Regions from separate parts of the Homo sapiens genome. Here region 1 is linked to region 2. The links are contacts of gene promoters, found by promoter capture Hi-C in blood cells and fetal thymus (Javierre and others, 2016). All regions are on one chromosome and are shown on one strand. The core of a region is centred on a gene start or on the middle of the fragment in contact, and the rest is flanking DNA. Distances in the headings are between cores, read along the strand shown. Region 1 overlaps SLC6A17 (solute carrier family 6 member 17). Region 2 holds the start of SLC16A4 (solute carrier family 16 member 4).

Region 1 (7,088 bases), core at 172-2,671, 190 kb after region 2:
GGGTCCGGCTGGCAAGACCTCTTGACACTTAGCATTTCTCCATCTAGAAAAGTAGAGATTGCTCCCACCTGGGCTAAGTTCCAGGAAAAACTGGTTCATTCCATTAGAGGAGTTAATTAGTCCTGATGGGCCCAGTCCCCTCCAGCAATATCCTGGGGAAAGGGGAAGCAGGTGTCTGGAGAGACAGGCCAAACTCAGGTTCCTCTTGGGTGCTCCTGAAGTCCAGGGATTCTTCCCTGCTTGGGTCAGCCCTGGGCAGAATGGAGGGACCCAGAACCCAGGCAGCTCAGACCCAGGGACAGAGAGCAGATCCCCACTGAGTCTTTATGCTCTGCAGCCAGGACTGTGCCTGGCATGGATCAATCTTTGTAAGGGTTTGTGGTTGAATGACAGGCATAGTCTTCTCCCATCTCAAGGTTTCTTCCCACCTAAGATGATGTAATTAAAGAATGCAGCAGCGTGCCTGGCACCAGTGAGTGTGCCAGGAAGGGAGATGCCCAAGTCAGATTGTGACTGCCTCTGCGAGCCAGGGACTCTTGCCTGGTCCTTTGTATATTCCCAGTGCTCAGCACAATCCCAGGCACTCAAAATACCTGATTCATGCTTGCTTGATGCATGGAATTAATGAGGCGGGGGGTGGCGGGGGAGGAGTCCTCCCTGTCAGTTTCTTGCTGTGTGGCAGAGAGTGCACTAGATTGGGAGTCAAGAAACCCAGGCATTGGCCCCGATCTTCCCCTTGCTTGGTTGTGGGAAGTCTGGTCTTTTCCTCTTTGGGCCTCCGTTTCCCCCATTGTTGTACAAGGAGGTTTGACCAGATAATCACTAAGGTTCATATTCTGGTTACTATTGTTATGAAACAAATTACCCCTAGTATGTAGTGATATAAACCCAACAGCCATTTTATTTTGTTTATTATTTTATGGGTCAGGAAATAAGGAAGGGCTCAGTTGAACAGTTCTTGCTTAGGGTCTCTTATGCAGCTACAATCAGATGTCAGCGGGCTGCAAACATCTGAAGCTCAGCTGGGCTAAACGTTCAGTATGCTGTGTTCATGTGGCTGGCAGTTGACACTGGCTGTTGGCTGGAAGCTCAGCTGAAGCTGTCAACCTAAGCATCTGCAAACATATCGCCTCCCTAGCATGGCAGTCTCAGGGTGGTTGGCTGTCTTACATGGCAGCTGGCTGCCTCTAGAATGAGTATCCCTAGAACACCAGGTGGAAGTGGCACGGCCTTTCCTAATCTAGCCTTGGAAGTCACATAGCATCACTTCTACTATACCCTGTTGGTCACAGGAAGCATTTGCTCACCCAGATTCAAGAGGAGGAGCATAGACTCCACTTTTGATGGGAGAAGTATTAAAAAGAATTTGGGGCCAACCAACAACAAAGAAAACAAAAACAAAACCCCACAATAGCCTTGTGGTCTGTGGAATACTTTAGCCTTGGCCCAAGTCCCTATGACTGGAGCTGTCTGGTGGTGACTGCTGGGGTGAACATGATAATGTACAGGATCAGTGAGACCCCCACACTCTGGTACTCCCTTTCCTGGAGAGAGTTCCTTTTCTGCCTTCCTTCCTTGGCTTCTCTGGATTTTAGGCTGAAACTGTCCTTTGTGAATAGCTTTAGGAGATGGCTCATTGCATGGGTGATGGGGCCCCCAGAATGAAGTAGGCCCCATGGCCTTGCCCAGGATCGCAAGAAGGAAGGAAGGAAATATTTAATGAGCACCTATTGTATCCCCATATGGAAAGAAGTCGATACTGTATTCCAGTAGATGTTACTGATGAAGTTCATTTTTCCCTCATACCATCTCTAAGGAAGAGATTTTATTGTCGTCCTCCTTTTACAGATCAGAAAATGGAGATTCCAGGGTTAAAGTGGCTTCCCCAAGGTGGTATGGTTGGCGACAGACCCATGATTCAAACCACTCATGCCACCTGCCCTGGGGCAAACCTGAGGCAGAAGCAGTGGCCTCACCTGTCCTCCTGCATGCCCTTCTCATCCTCCTCTGACTGCTCCCTCCACCCAGGGCCCAAACTTAACCACTCACCTCCCCACCAGAAATGACCTGCTGTGTGTCCCAGTTCTGTGTCTCTAAGCTGACATCCCCTCAGGAGAAGGCTTCCATGCATGTGCAGGTGACTGATGACAAAGATCCCTAACACTCTAGAATCAGCCCATTACATGGGCAGCCAGACTCTCCCCACTCCCCATCAACAAGGGGGGCTTCTGTGTGCCCTCCCCTTTATTTGGGCAGATGCTGTGACCCACAGAAGATGGTAGAGGTACTGTGCCATTTTCCAGCCCCAGGCCTTAAAAACCTGGCAGCTTCCACCTCCTGTCTCTTGAAATGGTCTCTCTGGGGACCCTAAGCCCTTCAGTCAGAAGTCTGGCCAAGTAGCCATGCTGGAGAGGCAGTTGTAGGTGCTCACTCTGGCCGGCAGGCCCAGCTGAACTCAGTCTTCCAGCCATTCTCACTGGAGTGCCCGGCATTTGAGTGAATGTGAGGGCAGCTGCCTTGGACCCTCCAGACTAGTTCGCTGCTAGTTGAATATCACTGAGTGACCTTGGTTGCCACCAGAAGAGTTGCTCAGACGAGTCCTGCCTGAATTCCTTACTCAGAAAACTGCGAGATAGAATGGTTGTTTTAAGCCGCTCAGACTTGGAGTAACTTGGAACACAGCAATAGATAACTGGACCAACATGTGTTATCTCATTGAATCTATTTATTATGTCTGTTTTACAGACTAGGACATTTAAGCTCAGAGCGATTAAATGACTCGCTCAAGGCCTCCCAGGAAGCAGGAAGCTGGGTGGCATTTGAACTTGAACTTGAGAAGTATGACTCTAGAGCTCCTTGGAACCAAAGCCCTTGTTATGCTGCATCTTGGTGGATCTGTGTGCCCCTCCTGGCAAGAGGGCTTGCATCTCAACCAAAAACATTACCTTCAACCAAAAGACTGAATACTTGACAAGGAGTGACTTTCAGCACCAGGCCATTTCCTGGTTTGAAAGATACATGGGGAGATGTGGAGTTATAGGGCCGGTCCCCTCCCTCTGCCAAACTCAGGACAGCAGGGGCTGATTTTATCTTTATTCATCTATAGCTGGCATGGAGCCTGTCCAGGGTGGGTACGTAATAAATGTTTGTTCAACAAATAAACTAACCCACAAAGGAATAAATGACAGAGAGGAAGGCAAGCAGACTATGATCTGGCGAGAAAGGTTTTCCTGCCATCTGGTGGCTATTCCTGGAACAACACTTTCTATGGCAAGAGAAGAAAATGGCAGGTTCCTTCAGGGTCCTTGGCTGTGTGCGTCTGAGTGCAAGCAGCATCATTCCAGCCTGGAGCTGGGTGGGGTGGGGGTGAGGCCTCCTCCAGGAGCCAGACTTCTTGTTTCTTTCAATGTCGGTGCTCCTAGAGGGTGAGGCAGGAAGAAGAGCTTCCCAGCCACCAGCACAGTCCGTTCTTCACAGTGCTGAGTATTCAGTGGGTGTTTAATAAATGAATACTTGGGGCTGGAATGTTAGAACAGAGGTGATGTCAGATCCCCTAGTTCGTCTTTACCTTCTACTGAAGTTTGCAAGAGGGATAGCTATCTTGAAGAGAGGGGCAGAACTTTAGAATATGCCTGTTCCAGGGGAGCCCACCCCCCCCCCAACCCAGCACCCAAGAGAGTCCTGGTCCTTGCTGTCAGACCTCTCAACACTGGCACCTTCCCACCCCTGTCCTTCCCTGAGGTGGGCCTCCACACACCCCACCCTTGCCAGGCTGACAAGTATAGCTTTTCCTGGTAGTCAGGTGGGACAGGAGTTTCCCCTACAGGGTCCTGTAAGAGACCACCAAATACCATCCTAATTTCAGATGCAGTTTCACCTGGAAAAATGTAGCCAGCAAAGGGTCTCCCTTAGGAAACGGTTGCAAAGATGACAGGAAATTAGACATGTGGAATCGCTGGACCCCAATAGGGCCCTCTACAAGTGTGTGCATTGTTAATACCTAGGACAATTCATAGGAAAATACAGATATGAACCTGTGCACACTCCCCGCGCTGCTCCTCAGCCAGCCAGCACCCACAACCCCCCTCAGCAGTCCTGTCCACCCATCCCAGTCCAAGCTTTTCACCCCAAAGCTTCCCGCAGGATCCTTGGCCACCCTTCCCTCTCCCTCATTGCAAGAGCAGGTGAGAAAGGCAAGAAGGGTTTGGTAAGAACAGACACTTTATTGCACACTATGGTGGGGGAGAGAGGAAGAGGGGTCTAGGGTGACAATGCCTCATCCCCTCCCCTGGGCTGAGTGGTTTTGACCCAGGGCTCTGACCAGCCATGGGACACATGGACTTGAATTGTTCTGAACTTATGCCAGAACCCAAAGTGACGGCCTGGTGTGTATGCTTGGGTCTGTATAAAGCAGAGCTTTCAATGAGAAGAGGCCCTAGGCCCCCTCCCCCAGCCAAAGTCATCGGGCCCCAGTGAAGCAGCAGACCTCACATCTCAGGGCCTATTTGAAGGATCCAGGGATGCTCAGGGAGCCAGGTTCATTCTAACCAGTTTAGTTTCCAGCTCTTTTCACAGTGGGGAGTACTCTGGGGGAGTGGGGTGGGGCGTGGGGGTGAGGAAGGGCAGAAAAGCAGCCCCTCCGCCTGGTAATACTGCAGGCCTGTGCAGTGCCTGGGACCGTGTCTCCTGGGCCCCAGCCTCATGACCCACACAGGCTGACTCGGAGCGGGGGTTCTCCTGGCACTGGGAAAGCAGCAACCCCTGCACATGTATTGCTGGAGGGCAGAAGCTGACCTCACTGGCATTAACTGATGTGCCCTACCTGTTCAGCCCCCATCTGGGCCTCGGGCTTCATGTTGCCTCAGTGAGGAGGGCGGAAGTCTCCCTGAGCAAGAAGCTGGTGATGGGGCTGGAGGGCAGGCAGAGGTAGGGGATCAGGGGACTGTTGACTCTTTCAGGCACATCCCTGCCCTGGAGTTCCCTCTGCCTTCTGGTGGGCACTGTGTGGACAGCACCAAAGCCAGTGGGGGTGGGGACCCTGTGAAGGGACTTGGGGACCTGGTCCTCTCCTGCTACCTCCTGCTCCTCCAGGATTCTGGGGCTGGATCTTAGCTCATCAGGTGACCCCACCTGCCTTTGACTCCAAAGGCATCAAAAGCACAGTGGGGAGGGGGCAGGCGGCCCTTTTCAAACACTGTCAGGACTGCGTCAACGGCAAATGCAGCAGTGCTATGAGATCCCTCTTGGGGTCTCGCCATCTTAAGAATCCTAGTACTTTTCCTCTGGAGAAGAGCTAGCGATTCTACTGGGAACAGCAAGAAGCTGACTGGTAAATAAATTTGAGGATTTTTTTTTTCCCTTAACGCCCTCCTTCCCTGTTTCTGGCAAACCCAGTGGTGTGAAGGCAATGAGTCACCAGCAAGAAACACATGCCTTTCCCCGTAGCAGGGGGCTCCCGAAGCACCCTGCCGGCCCTGAGGCTCCCAATAGAGCCAAGAGGAGGAGGAGGAGGCAGGGGGAGGGAGCGTGGTCTTCAGGAAGGTGGTGAACACTGGGAGTCACAGATCAGCACGCTACACACACCCACACTCACGTATGTGCACACCATACACACAGCACGCACACACACACCCCGAGCTCTAGGCCCTACGTCTAACACACAGCGAAGACACAGCAAAAGGCTACAACGAGCACTAGCGCGCCCACACCTAGCAAGCACACAGCCCCAGCTCAGCCCCTCCCGCTGGGGCCTGGCCCAGCCACACGCTACAAAATTAAAAATATATCAAATATACAATGAAAATAGATCTGTACAGCACTGAGGATGAAAATAGTCCACCAGCCACAGTATAATATTGGGTTTGTCATTTAACAGCATTTACACCCACATGTACAGAGTGAATATACAATAGAAACAGAATATATAGAAGAGTATATATAGTAGAGTGTCTCTCCTGGGGCTCTGCTTTTCCTGTTGCTAATTCTGCTTGGGATTTGGCAAGGGGCCAGGTAGGAGGTGTTGTCGGGTGAGGGGGACTGCGGTGGGATGTTGTGCCCCAAAAGCTCATCTCTTTGGGGAGATGTGGGTCTCTCTCTCCCCTCAAACACTCAGGAAAGACAGGTAGGGCAGAGGGGGCTAGAAAGGGGAAGCTGTGGAAGAGGGATGAGTAAGGGAGATGGCAGGGTTGGGGGATAGACTGCTCCCAGGCTTGGGGGAACAGTAAGGAACTCAGGGGTAAAGGAGGGGACCCTGATTCTGGTCTGTCCCTCCAGGTCCTAAGAGCAATCTGAGCCACAAGAGTGACTTGCGACCCTTCGTGAGGGTGTCCGGGTTGAGCACTGTGGCCTGTTTCTGCCCTGCCCACCAGAGCTCTCAAAGATGGAGCCAGTATTCCCTCCTTTCTCCCTCCTTTCCTTCCTTCCCCCACCCCATCCGTCCATCCATCCATCCATCTATCCATCCACCCCCACCCCCCAACCCATCCATCCATCCATCCATCCATCTATCCATCCATCCACCCCCACTCCCCAACCCATCCATCCATCTATCCATCCATCCATCCATCTCTCTGCAGACATTTACTCTTGGGTCAGGTTCCTCCCTGGCTGCACTCTGAGAATGGGTTCTCTTCCAGAGGAGGCCCTGAAGGTAATGGCAGGTGGGGTCGCTGTTGTCAGCTGCAGCCTTCTGCACAGGCTGGCCTCCATCCTGAAGACCAGCCCTTGCCTTTGGCAGCCTCTACTGTCCACAGCACTGCCTATGGCACTGGCCACTGTGGGCCAGGAAGGCTTGGGAAAGGTTTCCAAGGTGTCTGCACATGATGTGCACACTGGGCGGCTGTGCTTGTGTAATAAGGAGAGTGAGTGGTGGCTCAAAGGGGCAGTGAAATTATCTGTCTTTCCCCAGGAGTGAGGCTTCCTGGGGATAAGCCTGTGAACTCCAGGGACCCCTGTTCCAGGGGAAAAGCTGCCACTAGACAGAACATTGGACCCCAGGTGAGGAGGGAGGGGAGTGTGCTTCACCATTGTGCTCCAAACCATCTAATTTGTGCTAGGAACCAACAATTTGTGCTCTGGAAACCTCTCCG
Region 2 (6,896 bases), core at 1,987-4,486:
AATCAACCTTAATATCTCCTCCCCCATCACTGGTTCTTGCTCTGGAGAATATTCTATTCTTTCTCGAGAACCCAGACTCATTCAACCCCTCAGGTTTGATAATTCACTAGGATGACTCACAGGACTGAGCATTTAGTTGTTGTACTTACATGGTTTATTAAAGTGAAAGGATACAAAGCTGACTCAACAAAGGCAAAAGGAGGATGGGGCAAAGTCCAGAAGAAACCAGGCAGAAGCTTGCAAGAATTCTTCTATCAGTGAAGATACACAGGATGCAGTTAATTCCTCCAGCAATGAGTTGTAACAACATGTGTGAAATGTTGCCAATCCAGAAAGCTTAGTAGAGACTCAGTGCCCAAGGGGGCTGGTCACCAAAGTACCCTCTCTGCCTAGCACATATCAAAATTCCAAGCTCCCGAAAAAAGCAAATGTTCAGCATAAAAATTGTATTGTTTACATAGTTTAAGCACAATGATTCACTATTATCATTTAAGGAATGGTAGGAACCCTCCTGAAATCTAAGTTCCCAGTTGCCAGCCAGAGGCCAACCATGTAAACAGGCCTTTCAAAGAATAGGAATCTCAGGCCAGCGATGTTAACTCTTTTCTGAACAAGGATTGAATGAGGGCAAGGAGAGAGTCAACTAAAAATAAAGTATCTTAATTCTAGTTGGTAAAGCTTATTAAAGTCTAAATCCATAAGTGTTAAAAATTATTCCTGGGCTGGCTATGTTTGACACTGGGATGGGGGTAATAGTGGTGATTGCCAAATCATGCTGCATTCTTGCTGAATAGCTTTAGGGCCAAGAGTTAAAAGGTTAGAAGTTGAGGGAATTGTTTATGTTTCGTTAAAGACCCTACAAGCTTTATTAAGACAATTGGGTACAGATGCCAAAATGTTAACTAATATCCCAAAGGTGGCTTAAGAATTCTTTCTTCTTGCTATTAGGCCTCATTTGACTAACAAAAATTATTTTTCATGAACCAAGTACCAATAGTAGGTCCAATGTGCAGTCATCTTACATTATATATTGTTAATCCTCACAACAACCTTGCAAAATATTAGCTACGCTTTAGAGTTTTAGAAACAGACTCAAAGAGAGTAAATTGCCCAGAGTCTACGGGCTTAAAAACTGACAAAATTGAGATTATCACCAAGCCTGCATTTCTGTTCATGTGCCTCTATGAAACATATGTTTGAAGTTCATCTCTGATTACTTTGCTGTCCTCTTGGCCTCTATGAATGACTTGCTGTTCTGCCGCATTTCAAATCTGACCCCAGGCATTAGCATCAGAGTTCTCTATCAATATAAAGCCTATTATAAGACAAAGATGAATAGGAATATATACACACATATATAATGTATTGTTTACATAGGTTAGGCACAATGATTCACTATTATCATTTAAGGAATGGTAGGAACCCTCCTGAAATCTAACTTCCCAGTTGTATATGTTCCTATATGTATATGTGTGTATATATATATTCCTCTGTGTGTGTGTGTGTAAGAAAAATATATATATAGCCTAGCATCATTTCATCCTGTGATTAGAATTATGGATAGCTGGCTCCTTACAGTGGTTTATGCCTGTAATCCTAATACTTTGGGAGGTCAGGATGGGAGGATCGCTTGAGCCCAGGACATTGCAAACAGCCTGGGCAACAGAGTGAAACCCCCATCTCTTAAAAAAAAAAAAAATTAATTAGCTGAGCATGGTGGTGCATGCCTGTAGTCCCAGCTACTCAGGAGGCTGAGGTAGGAGGATTGCTTGAGCTGGGGAGGTCAAGGCTGCAGTAAACCATGATTATGCCACTGACTCCAGCCTGGGCAATAGAGCAGGCCCTGTCTCAAGAAAAAAAGAAATCATAGATAGCCCTGCTTTAAAAGAGCAACAAGCGTGCCACCAAAAAAATAAATAAATCAGTCTTGTTTACTAAAAAATGTTTTCAGGCTGGCCACGGTGGCTTACGTCTGTAATCCCAGCACTTTGGCAGGCTAAGGCAGGCGGATTGCCTGAGCTCAGGAGTTTGAGACCAGCCCGGGCAACACGGTGAAACCCCGTTTCTACTAAAATACAAAAAATTAGCTGGGCGTGGTGGTATGCGCCTGTAGTACCAGGTACTTGGGAGACTGAGGCAGGAGAATCACTTGAACACGGGAGGCAGAGGTTGCAGTGAACCGAAATTGCACCACTGCACTCCAGCCTGGGCGACAGAGTGAGACTCTGTCTCAAAAAAAAAAAAGTTGTCTAGAGTGTATTCATAATTACAAACAGCTCTCTGAAAAGCATTTATTTGCCTTCTCTCTTTGGGTTTTCTCCTTCTGTTGAATGTTTATTTGATCCTTGCCACCAGCATCATGTAACTGCATAATCCTTCCATGCTTACACTTACAGGGCACCCTCCCAAACCACTAAGCTGTCCTTCTGCAAGCACTTTAATCAAAAAGTATTATAGAGTTTGATTTTAAGAATCTGAGAAGCCTCTTGCTTCTTAAAAAGGAACATGCATAAATATGTGCAGATTTTCCAGATAAAACTAAAAACACATCCTTTCGTCTAAAATATACTCTGGTTTAAAATCTGGAATATTGGTGTGGGAGACGAAAGACAATTTCCCATTTGACTTGTTTGTTTTGTTTTGTTTTATGTGGAGGGTAGAGGGAGGAAATGGGAAGAGAAAGTTGAATTATCCCAGTAATTTTCTAGGGGTCTCAGCCTTAACCATTTCCAAAATATAATAAAAAAAATCTCATTAAAATTACTACGAGCATACGTCTTTTGCAGGAGGTGGTTGAGGTAATCAGATCTCAAAAATGCAATTAAAATGGGGTCTGAAACCCCAAATTAGTAACCAGAATCTTTAGTCAATATACAAAAGGCCACACGAATGGGTTGAGCTTACTGAAGATTTCTGTTTGTGGCCCAGGAAATGCCTCTCTCACCACCCATCCAGGAGTTTTATATTCTCCTGTAAAATAAGCATGTTGTGAGAAGTTCCCTGAGGAAATTTGAAGACAAGTGTATGAGAGCTCTGGAGCCCCATCCCCCTGCCCTGAGCATAGTCGCCAAAAGGACTTTCCACTTAGTTTACTTCATGCTTGCTTTTGAGCCTGCGGCAAAAAATTCTACCTTCTGAGTGACTGTGGGTGGAGGGAGGGCCTGAGATGACATCAAATCACAGTCTTTCCTCCTCCCCTCAGGAAGTAAAGTCCACTAGCAGGAGGGCCTAAATCGTCTGAGCCCTCCTTGGCTCTTACAATGCTCACTTGTTTTCACAATGCAGCAAAATGAAATGCCTTAGAAAAAGAGTAACATTCCAGAAAACGGTGTAATTTATTTTTCTTCCTTAATTGCCCCATCTGTGGAGGATTTCTTTGCTGAACACCACATCAAAGGTAAGATGGGAATGGGACTGTGTGCTGGGTTGGTTTTCTAACAACGACTGGCATCTCTCCCCACCCAGCCTGCTCACCAGATGGCCATTCCGCATACCCTGCCAGCTGACTTTCCTTTCCAGTTAGAAACAGTCAGCCTTCGACCCGACAGGGGAAATAATGAGTACTGTTCCCCCTTCCTCAGAACATTTACATTTTCTTTTTGCTATCATTCTTTATATACACTTGTTTATTTTACGGAACCGATTGGGAGAAGGTAGCATAGTGTCATGTTACTCCTGAATACTTTAGCATGTATCTCCTAAGAATATTCTCTTGTGGAAGAGGTTCCAAGAGGTTAACCTTGGTACAGTATTCTGTATTATACAGTCCATATTCAAATTTCCCCAACTGTCCCCACAAACTGTCTTTTACAACTTTTTTTTCTGATCTAGGATATATTCAATAAGCGGGTATCGCATTTCGTTGTCATGTCTGTTTAGCTCCAAAAATATTTACATTTAGCAAGTGTTTTCTAAGGAGAATTCCTAAACTCAAGGCTCGCCTTCCCTTTCTATTTCTCTTAAGAGTTCACCCGGAGGACCAGCAGGGTGACGCACAGCTTCTCCAAGAAACTGGCTTGCAGACCTGGGGGGAGGGACACTGAGTACAGTTCTAGGAGTGGCCACCCCACAGTCACTGAGATCAGGCTTTCCAGGTAACTAAGTCCTTAGTTGCATCAGGCAGACTTCATCTGTAACTGAGGGGTTAAAAAAAAATTACAAGTGGTTTTATATCATAGGGAAAGAGGTTTTTTTTCTGTTTTGTATTACATTTCAACTTTTATTTTAGATTCAGGGGGTACATGTGTAGGTTTGTTACAAAGGCATATTGTCTGATGCTGAGATTTGGAGTATAATTGAACCCCTCACCCAGATAGTGAGCACAGCATCCAATAGGGAGTTTTTCAACCCTCCTCCCTCCCTATCTTGTAGTCCCCAGTGTCTGTGGTTCCCCTCTTTATGTCCATATGTACCCAATTTTTAGCTCCCACTTATAAGTGAGAACATGCAGTATTTGGTTGTTTCTGCATCAATTTGCTCAAGATAATGGTCCAGCTGCATCCATATTGCTGGAAAGGATATGATTTTGTTCTTTTTTATGGTGGCTGTGTAGTATTCCATGGTGTCTATGTATCACATTTTCTTTATCCAACCCACTGTTGATGAGCACGTAGGTTGATTCCATGTCTTTGCTATTGTGAATAATGCTGCAGTGAACATAAAAGTGCATGTGGCTTTTTGGTAGAACAATTTATCTTCCTTTGGGTATATACCCAGGAATGGGATTACTGGGTCAAATGGTAGTTCAATTTTTGGTTCTTTCAGAAATCTCCAAACTGCGTTGCACAGTGGCTGAACTAATTTGCATTCCCACCAACAATGTATGAACGTTCCCTTTCAGATAAAAAGTTTAAAAGTTTAGATTAGTTTCTGGTCCACTGAATCAACTGTCTTGGATTTATCACAGGGATCTTCTGCATTTAAAATAGAAGAGGCATCATGCTGAAGAGGGAGGGGAAGGTCCAACCTTACACTAAAACCCTGGATGGAGGATGGGGATGGATGATTGTGATTCATTTTTTCCTGGTAAGAATTCACTTTTTTCCCCCTTTCCTATTGCCTAAAAGCAGGCTTTCTGGAGAAAGGCTCAGAGCTGCCTACGAATAGGATCACTTAGGAAATCTTTGGCATCTGAGTGGAGGGGTGGGCAGGAACAAGGCCAGGAGCTGCCAAAAACTGCTAAAGTCAGAGGCCCATGCCGAACCCAGGAGAAAGTTGAAAATGCCCCTAGAGCAAAAGCAGAAATGTTCCTGGGCTGGGTGTGGGGGCTCACACCTATAATCCCAGCACTTTGGGAGGCCTAGGTGTGTGGATCACTTGAAGTCAGGAGTTCGAGACCAGCCTAGCTAACATGGTGAAACCCGATCACTACAAAAATACAAAAATTAGCTGAGTGCAGTGGCATGCACCTGTAGTCCCAGCTACTTGGGAGGCTGAGGCAGGAGAATTGCTTGAAATCAGGAGGTGGAGACTGAAGTGAGCCAAGATCGTGCCACTGCACTGCAGCCTAGGCAACCATGAGAGACTCTCTCAAAACAAACAAACAGAAGTGTTCCTGAATCCAGTCATCTACTCTTCCTATCATCTCTTAAACCTGAGAATGCTCAGTCACAATCAGCAGTTCTGTACTGGCTGCATGGCAATTAGGGTTTGGGGACAATCATACTTTTAACCATCCCAAAAGTAGCACTGGGAGGTGCTAAAAAGTGCTCTGGGGGTGATCTCCCCAGTTCAGCCCAGCATAGATAGAACACTGTGGGCACAGCCCCTTCTACCGATAAGGGGTGGGGACATTTCCTCTGTTTGGCCTGCTGTCTACTTCCCAATCCATCCCCACTAACTATAGTTTATGCTATCTATATTTCCGATGTGTTTGGAAAGGGAGGACAAGGATTTTGAAGGGGGAGCCTGATTCTTCTCCTTTACCCATAAGCAACTAGACGAGGCATTCCATTTTTTAAATTAACTTCTTTCCCTCACCCTCCCAGGGGTTGAGGTGTGAGAGTGGTGATCTGCATCATCAGCATGCCCATTCCAGAATGTTGGTGAACCCCAGCTATGCCCCACACAGCTCTCCAGAGAGTGGCACCAGCTGCACAATTCTTAAGTGTTTCCAGAGTTCTATTAACTTTGAGATGCACTCAAAAAAAAACACCCTTTTCTTGCCGACACTTCCCCCCTACTCAGCCCTACAGTAAGCAGCTCACGGGGAAAGGTAGCACAGGTCTTGGTGCCTTCTAATAATCCTATAGTTCACATGCAGATATCTAAGAATTCTACAAATAGGATGGTGGGAAAACATCAGGCCTCCTCCCTCGTGCTAGACAAGATAGGGGCAGAGGTCCCCAGCCAGGATTTATGTAATACAAAACTCTTAACACATAATAGTAGTACTTGCTAAACATTAGCTTCAGTACTAAACAATCTCATTTTCCCCCTAGAAATGTTACTAATAGGGAAACTAAAGGATGCCCTAAGTCTGAGAGCCCTTCCTGGGGCTGGGCCACCCCCCTAAATCATAGGCTTTGCAGAATAGGCACTGTTGGTGAGGATCTCTAATTCTCCTGCCTTTCTCCCCAGTAACCACCCTGACTTTTTCTACATTATCCTCTGAGGATAGAATGGTTTTTGATCAATTTAGTTGCTGATAGGAAAAACCATCTAATAACCAGATTAATAAACACTGTCCCACTTTTAGGGTGTGATACTGCTTACTAAGCACAAAAAATGCACTGGATCCTCAAAATGTTAACAATAAATTCAGGGGCTAATCCCCCACAGTTGTAATGTGGATACTTGAATGACTGTGCTTTTGTTTCTGTATGACTTACAACTGTTCTTTTCTATAACAGATGAGCTCCTAGTAAGTGAAAAATAACAATGTTCTTTGGGAGCTT

What was found. The method cuts DNA at HindIII sites, captures the fragments that hold promoters and counts their contacts. A CHiCAGO score of 5 or more calls a contact.
Region 1: a fragment that was not itself captured here is called in contact with the fragment with the promoter of SLC16A4 in region 2 in 11 of 17 cell types (M2 macrophages, total B cells, naive B cells and 8 more); the score reaches 10.6 in M2 macrophages.

The regions. Positions count from the first base shown.
Region 1 is chr1:110,199,318-110,206,405 of GRCh38, reverse strand. It overlaps SLC6A17 (solute carrier family 6 member 17), which reads right to left. Exons shown (of 12, transcript NM_001010898.4): 12 at 4,204-7,088. Among named protein-coding and RNA genes, the nearest start is that of KCNC4-DT, 7.1 kb to the left of the region's middle. RefSeq lists an enhancer at 3,311-3,360. The HindIII fragment of the contact is 5,398 bases long and covers 1-4,120 here.
Region 2 is chr1:110,387,366-110,394,261 of GRCh38, reverse strand. It overlaps SLC16A4 (solute carrier family 16 member 4), which reads left to right and starts at 3,236. Exons shown (of 9, transcript NM_004696.3): 1 at 3,236-3,397; 2 at 4,907-5,025. The coding sequence starts at 4,939. The HindIII fragment of the contact is 6,987 bases long and covers 866-6,896 here.